Linked DNA regions of Homo sapiens: region 2 is linked to region 1. The links are contacts of gene promoters, found by promoter capture Hi-C in blood cells and fetal thymus (Javierre and others, 2016). All regions are on one chromosome and are shown on one strand. Each heading gives the region's core, a stretch centred on a gene start or on the middle of the fragment in contact. The rest is flanking DNA. Distances are from core to core; before and after follow the strand shown.

The links. Contacts are between HindIII fragments. The CHiCAGO score rates a contact against its expected background, and 5 or more counts as called.
Region 2: a contact is called between a fragment that was not itself captured here and the fragment with the promoter of SEMA3E in region 1, in 1 of 17 cell types (megakaryocytes). The highest score is 5.8, in megakaryocytes.

The regions. Positions count from the first base shown.
Region 1 is chr7:83,647,255-83,651,077 of GRCh38, reverse strand. It overlaps SEMA3E (semaphorin 3E), which reads left to right and starts at 1,939. Exons shown (of 17, transcript NM_012431.3): 1 at 1,939-2,650. The coding sequence starts at 2,536. The HindIII fragment of the contact is 2,466 bases long and covers 1,217-3,682 here.
Region 2 is chr7:83,384,175-83,387,809 of GRCh38, reverse strand. SEMA3E (semaphorin 3E) reads left to right here. Exons shown (of 17, transcript NM_012431.3): 15 at 760-827; 16 at 2,377-2,516. Among named protein-coding and RNA genes, the nearest start is that of PCLO, 220 kb to the right of the region's middle. The HindIII fragment of the contact is 578 bases long and covers 1,288-1,865 here.

The DNA.
Region 1 (3,823 bases), core at 690-3,189:
TGACTCTACTTCTGAGGATTCTTCTTGTTTTATTTTATGATGTAAGTGACTAATTTGGTCCCAAAGACTCTTTATTCCATTGCTAATGCCACATAGGGGAAACTGAGACTATAGATAGTTTTCTTAACAGTCATTTTTTGGCATCATCTATATATTTTCTATAGGATAAAGATAAAGGTAAAAGGACATAAAGAGTAGTTAAAAGAAATAAGTAAGGACATTGACAACTGGCAGATAAGCCAAAGCACATTTTGAGGAATCTAAACAACCCATTATTCTGGCATTTACTTCTAAATTGCTCCAACTTAATCTGAAGGATGAGATGTAAAACCAAAGACAGATCTTGGCATTCATAACATATATTCTCTTGTCAACACTTTAGAGGTGCATATTTTGTGTACTAATGAAATGATTGTAATGTCTCACATTGTCTCAGTTCTATAGTAGAGTTAGGACAGGCACTATGCAATCTTAAGTAGAATTTCAGCTATGTGAGAGTAGCCATGAATTTGCAATAAAAGGTGTAGGCACCACATTTACTTTTCCTATAATCCTACTATTAGATAACACATATAAGAGCTGCTATTTATTTTGTCATTTGTTTCCATCCTAGAAGAAAGCAAAAGAGAATTTTGAAGGTACAATGTATCACATTTAGAGCAACCTTTAGGTCTGTAGCTCATCAGACTGGCTTTTAAAATATGCAAGCATTCCAGGTTAAAAGTCTCTAAATAACTTCATGTCATTTTACTGTTAAATAATGTTTAGAGTTTGCTATCTTTTGTAGACCTTGGAAATCTAATTATTTATAATGTCCAGTGACATTTACATTTTGCTAAATATACTCTGCTTGTACAAGAACATCTCATGATTAGAAAAATGGGTAGAGAATGCCTGGCTGTACATATGCTTCTATATAATGCAAAAATATCAGGGTGACACATGTTATCTTTTTGTTATAGTTTCGTGATTTTAAAACATAATTCTCAAAAAGTTTTTAACTATTAGCATTTAAAATACAGAATAAGAAAAAGTTATCATAGTTGAGATCAGTGTTTACCATTTAACTCTCCACTATCAAATCAAATATCTATTCAAGTTTATTGGTATCTTAACATAATACCATTCATTTCCATGCCAACAGCTCCTGAGTGTTTGGCTTAGTTTTTGAGATTGATTGAAGGTAGATTGTAAAGTTGACCTATTGTGTTAAGCTTATTTACACAAACACAGTGCCTTGGAAAATCAACTCTGGAAGTCCATAGCAGTTGAATCCTAAGGTATTGCACATCCTAAGTTTTCTAATACCTGCTTTATAGAAATCCCTTGGGTGGTGAATCTCAACTTTGCCAGTTACCTTACCTGGGGGAAATTACTTCAACATTCCTAAATTTGAAGTAAAATTTAGGAATTGCTTTAGGACAAAGGATTTGCCTTTAATTTCATTTGACCAATTTGCTTAAGTAAATAATTTATCATTTCTATCAAATTTATGAGACAGTCACAGATGAACTTTTTTTTTTCAGGCTCTTGAAACACACTTTTCTTAAAAGAGTTTAAAAATAACATCCCTAAGATATAAGCAATAGAAAAAGACTTAATTTTGAAAAAAACCTTATGGCAACAGTGAAAAACAGAATTTGGATTCTGGATGGTTACAAATAGATTATTTTCAAAAGAAGTTGGATTTATTCAACTTAGGTCAATTTATCTTGGTAAGAATTTAAAAGCGCTTTCTGATGCCACATCCTTGTCTGTCACCTATTCTTAAATAATCAGTCTATGTCATCACCCCTCCCGAACTCCCCATTTCCCCCATCAAAATGTGGACTTCTCTCCTGCTGCTGAGTAACGTGGGGCTGGTTATGACTGGGAGGGAGGATGGGAGCGAGGCACGTGGACCAGAAATACTTCCTAGAAACAGCAAGTACGCTGCTCAACCCTGCCTGAACTTTCCTGTAAACAGCCACTGACAGACTGCATCCCTGCTGGGTGGATCCTGCGACTCCTAGAGGGAATGGCACTTCTTGTTTTTAATTAGCAAGGTGAAAGGTGAATTAAAACTAGCAGTTTGGCAAGTCAGTGCAAGAGGCTGACTTCTGAGAGGCTTCCAGGAGCCCGAAGAGAGGACCTCCACGGGAGAAGGGAGTGCGTGTGCTCGGTTTTGTTTTTTTCTCTCTTTTTTTTTTTTTTTTCTGAATGAACAGCTTTGCCCAAGTGACTGAAAAATACAGCTTCTTCCTGAATCTACCGGCGTAGTTGCTGAAGAGCGCTCTAGACAGGACATGGCTCTGAAGACTCACTCTTTGGAATGTCCTCTTGCTCCCGGCTTATAAACAACTGTCCCGAGGAAAGAAAGGTTTTACATAGCCAAATACAGCCTGACAAATGGCACTTCGGAACTGTGCTTTCTGATGACAACGCGTTCGATTTCTGACAAAGCCTCTCGCACGCTGCCCCTGGAGGGAAGTCCTAAGTAAAACTCAGACCCTCCTTAAAGTGAGGAGCGAGGGCTTGGACGGTGAACACGGCAGCATGGCATCCGCGGGGCACATTATCACCTTGCTCCTGTGGGGTTACTTACTGGAGCTTTGGACAGGAGGTCATACAGCTGATACTACCCACCCCCGGTTACGCCTGTCACATAAAGGTAGGTTACCTTTCCAGATCCTTTTGTTTAAAAAAAAAAAAAAAGAAAAAGAAAAAAGAAAAAAAAAGTCGTTTAACATTAACATAGGCTTATGGTCTTCAAAGACCTTTAAAATGCACCTGAAAAATTTATTGCAAAACTGACCTAAAATTCTAAGTACCTCTGATTAATGTGTCATACTCACCTCATCTGAAAACAGTGCAAAATCACATGTCAACTTAGAGATGTTATTTTTGTCTGTAAACATTGGATTTTATCAATAAGGAGTTCACTCACTAGCCCGCGGAACACAGGAAGGGAGGAAGCAGGTTGAAAATAGCCTTGAGAGGCTGAATCCACCAAGTTAACAGTAGATATTTAAATATCAGTTTATGCATATGAGAAACAAGGATGCTGGGAAAGGGCTATAGAAATAGGGGTGCAATTTGTTCTTTTTGTTTTTGTTTTGTTTTGTTTCCATAATGGAGGTAAGAGGAGAAAATAAAAATCCCGAGGAGAAAAATGATGCCCTACCCATAACTGTCATCATCATGTAATTAAAATGATTAACAACTAATATAAATTAGTTTTCCAGTTGAATTGATTATTAGAATTTTTTCATGTGTGGCAAAGGAAAATAGTTTATGACAATGCTTGTAAAATGGCTAATATGGATTAAAGTATTAGTATTCACTAGCATTTGTAGTGTAAATTTATATTGCCTTAATGAAGATCTAACAGCAAATGTTTAAATATTTCATTCTACAATTGTCTTGTAAAGCAACATCATACTCATAAATAAATGATTAAAAGATAGATTTTGCATCAGGACCAATACAAGCCAGTCATGAATAGGTTTGGTAATTCCTCCTGTAAACAAACAAATAATAAACAAAACCATGCTCAGAGAAAGTGACTTTGCTGACTTAATATAAATTCGGAATAAATTGTCAGCAAAGAAGTATTTATTATCACTAGCCATTGACACATTGAGACAGATAGCAGATGTAATACTCAGGATTACATAAGAATCATTTTTCAATTGTGTAAGCTTTTAAATTGTCCCCCACTGTAGAAAGAACAGAAGCTTGTATTTTCTAAGTACAGGTAGAATATTTATCAGGAGAAACAAAAAGGGAGTCCTCAATTTTATGTGACACGTTTGGCCTTTTTGTCTTTTTATTGGACAATCTT
Region 2 (3,635 bases), core at 327-2,826, 260 kb after region 1:
GAATTTTTCCGCAGATACAGAATATTGTATTTTTTTCAGTTATATATCTAAACAATCTATGAAATTAAAACAATACTAGAAATGACTCTAATTATACGAGGCAGATTGAGGGGGAAAATACTAATATTTCTTGAGTCCCACTAGATGCACAAAATTCTGCTAAACATGAAAAACACACTATCACATTGAATAGAGGCAATGTTATATCTGAATAAAAGTAAGCTGACTACAGTATATTATTAGTTTATGTCTTATTGTTAGAAATTCTATTTGTACTAATTGATTATAATGGCTATAGAACAAACTATTTGGATTTTAACACCTTTTTCATTTGCACTTTATTATATATGGGAGTTTTATACTCAAAATAACTGTTTTGTACTCAATAAATACTTTACTTCAAATCCCATTGTCTTTATCTGCTCAAATACCTTACCATTCAAGACATTCTCAAACTAGAAGATTTCTTGTTGAACTAAATTTTTAACAAAAAGTAAAGAGAAATACATTCCATTGTTGTTTGAGTTTCCAGAATTCAACATTATGTAAATAAAGAACAGGGTAACATAGATCTTAGCTACTGAAGAACATATAATGGAAATATGAAAAACTATGAAACTTGGATTTTATTCTTTTTTCATATGAATGATCATTTTTTTCAGTAGCAGAATACTACTTGTATATGAAATGCAATTGGCTGCATTTTAAAGTCTGGAAAATTGAAAAAATGAACATCTAAATGCATTTACTTTCTTTCAGGCGTTTCCGGAGACAAGATGTTCGACATGGAAATGCAGCTCAGCAGTGCTTTGGACAACAGTTTGTTGGTAATCCATAGAAAATCAGTTGTTCTGGGTTACTCAGAGAATACATTGAACATAAACTACAAACTTCTTAAAAAGAGTCCTTTTTTTCTTTGTGATTCATGTATACTAGAACAATGTAATAAGTATTCTTTTTCTCTGACATGTAGTTAAAATTTTGAAAATTTGACTAATTTTTACCTGATTAGGAAAATAAGTTTTATGTGCTACCACCAAGCTTTATTATTAAACTAATTATTAAAACAAAGAAACCCTAGAACAAGAATGCTGCATACTTTAGGTGGTTGATGCCACAGTGACTCTTATGACTTACCTCTTTATCTCATACTGGGGACTATCTTCACCATGTTACGTACCTTCTGGTGATTTTATCAACTGGTATTACTTCTATCAAGTCATCTCCTAAGCTTTGGGATAGATAAAGTGAAAAAGCTTTTACTCTTTTATCTAAGTTGACCAAGCTTAGGGCTGGGGTTGGTGGTTCAATAAAGGTGATAGGGTGGTGGTAACTGATGGGTTAGGAATGGAGGAAATCTCATCTTTAGGCAAAAGTAAGGAATATAAGAAAGAACTTCTCTGTTAACTCCTGACTCTTTCTATTATGGTAGTGACTGTTGAATAGGCTGTATTTAGTGTCACTGAGCTCACTAGGAAGTAATAATAAGAAGGGACACCATAAATGAGAAACCAGCGGTGGCTATACGCAGAGCCAGAGACTGTGCTCCAGCATCAATTTGTTGGACCCCAGACTGACTCAGGATTCAGTGGAGGACTCAAGCCTCTGGGAATACTAGCAAGAGAAAAGTAGGACCTTCATCTTAGGGAAGTTTAGGGGTCAGTTCTGAAGGTGAGTAGGATTCAGGCATAGGAAAAATAAATCCAGAGGTCCAGTTATTGAATTTGTCTTAGTTTAAAATAAAGAGAGAGTAATCCTGCTTCCTTTTATTCCCTACTGCAGCTAAGTGTACTTGCCTGTGTGCAAATTTGAGTTCAAGTCCAGTAAGAGCCTTTCTGGTCCAAGACACAGATTATAATCAAGCTTTATTTCACAAAGTCCCTGGTTCAGTCTCATATTCTCTTCTCACTACAGCAGCCCAACACCCAGATAAATGCAATCCCTTGTCAAGATATAATCCACATTTGTGTTTATGTAGTGGCATTTTGCCTGCATTTCTGGTGTCTGCTTTTGTTTGTATCCACGAATTTTGTCCTGTGCTTTGGTGTTCCCTTTCTCTTCCCTCAATAGAGGTTGCAATAGACTTTCCATGAGTTTAACACTGATGCTTCTTACTGCCTTGACTATCCTGTCCCATCCTTTGGAACCAGACTCTCAGTTACCTACTTCTGTCCCACCCCATAGCCTGCTTGCTTGTTTCATGCCTAAATTTTGGTATGCCACTCTTTCTAAATAATTCCTTTAAATTACCTTTTGCAGAAATAAGCAATAAGTAATGAGTTAATCATGTTACTGCAGGGATCTAAATAATGTTTGAAAAATTTATTTACCTATAAAATCTAAGTCTCAAAGATGGCATTAATGTTCCTGTTGTAGGGGATGCTTTGGATAAGACTGAAGAACATCTGGCTTATGGCATAGAGAACAACAGTACTTTGCTGGAATGTACCCCACGATCTTTACAAGCGAAAGTTATCTGGTTTGTACAGAAAGGACGTGAGACAAGAAAAGAGGAGGTAATTCATAGCTGCATATTCAAAACATAGTATTTTGCATATAGTGTGTGATCAGTAAATAGATGATTTATTTGGATGCTGAAAAATGAAGCTAGCTGTTGTACTATGCATGCCTTATTTAATAAGTCAGTTTTATTTGTTATGTGTGATTTATATACACACAATAATTTAAATATATATACATATAGATTTTATATACATATACTATATAAATATATATATGCTATACACATACATAGAAATCATTAATTTGGATCTTGGAAGTAAGAATTTTTTAAAGAGGTACTTATAACTCATGATTTTATGGTCATGTTGTCAAAATGATAGTCTTAAATCATGACTCCCAAGGCAGTGTTGTAGAGAAATAGCAAAACTTAATTATCATTAACACATATGTCTTAGACATATGAATAATAACAGAATTAAAATAACAACACAGCTACAACATTAAGCTCATTGTAGAAGAAAATTTTTCAATTATATATGAGACATTGACACAAGGGTTCTTGACCGCTGGGAACAAAGGAAAGACCCCGCTCTTTCATCATCTAAATGATGGGAGAGGAATGACTTGGATGCTTGTAGAGATGGAAGAATAGGCAGCTTTAAAGCACATGTGTAGAATAGGAGGCAGTTACTGGATAAAAGAATGTGAGTCAAGGGCTGTCTATAGAAAGAGTCCAGGGCATAAAGAGGTCCAGGGCATAAAGCAGTTAGGTAAGGCAGATCATGGTGATGTAGGCTTTGAACTCAGTTTCACAAAAGTGGAATTACAAAGATAGCAAGTAGAAAAAAAAATGGATATTTTAGAAGGAGAAATAATATTGAATATTAAATGATGAATATTGAAAAAATTATCCTTGGTAAAGAAAAGGTTGCAAGTTGAATAATGAAAATAAGCTCTAGAGACCTGTCTCTATTACAGAGAAGAGGTAATAGGTGCATTTTGGATAGAGAGTGAATCAATGGAAGGCTTCACCTCGTTTTGGCACTGCAGACTAAACATTTGTCATTGGAATACAAAATTACTGATTCCAAATGCGGAACACTTTGAACTTTTTATTCCTTTTTTCCTAGCCTATCGTGAAATTTAAAACCTAACATGTTTTTAGATCAAAA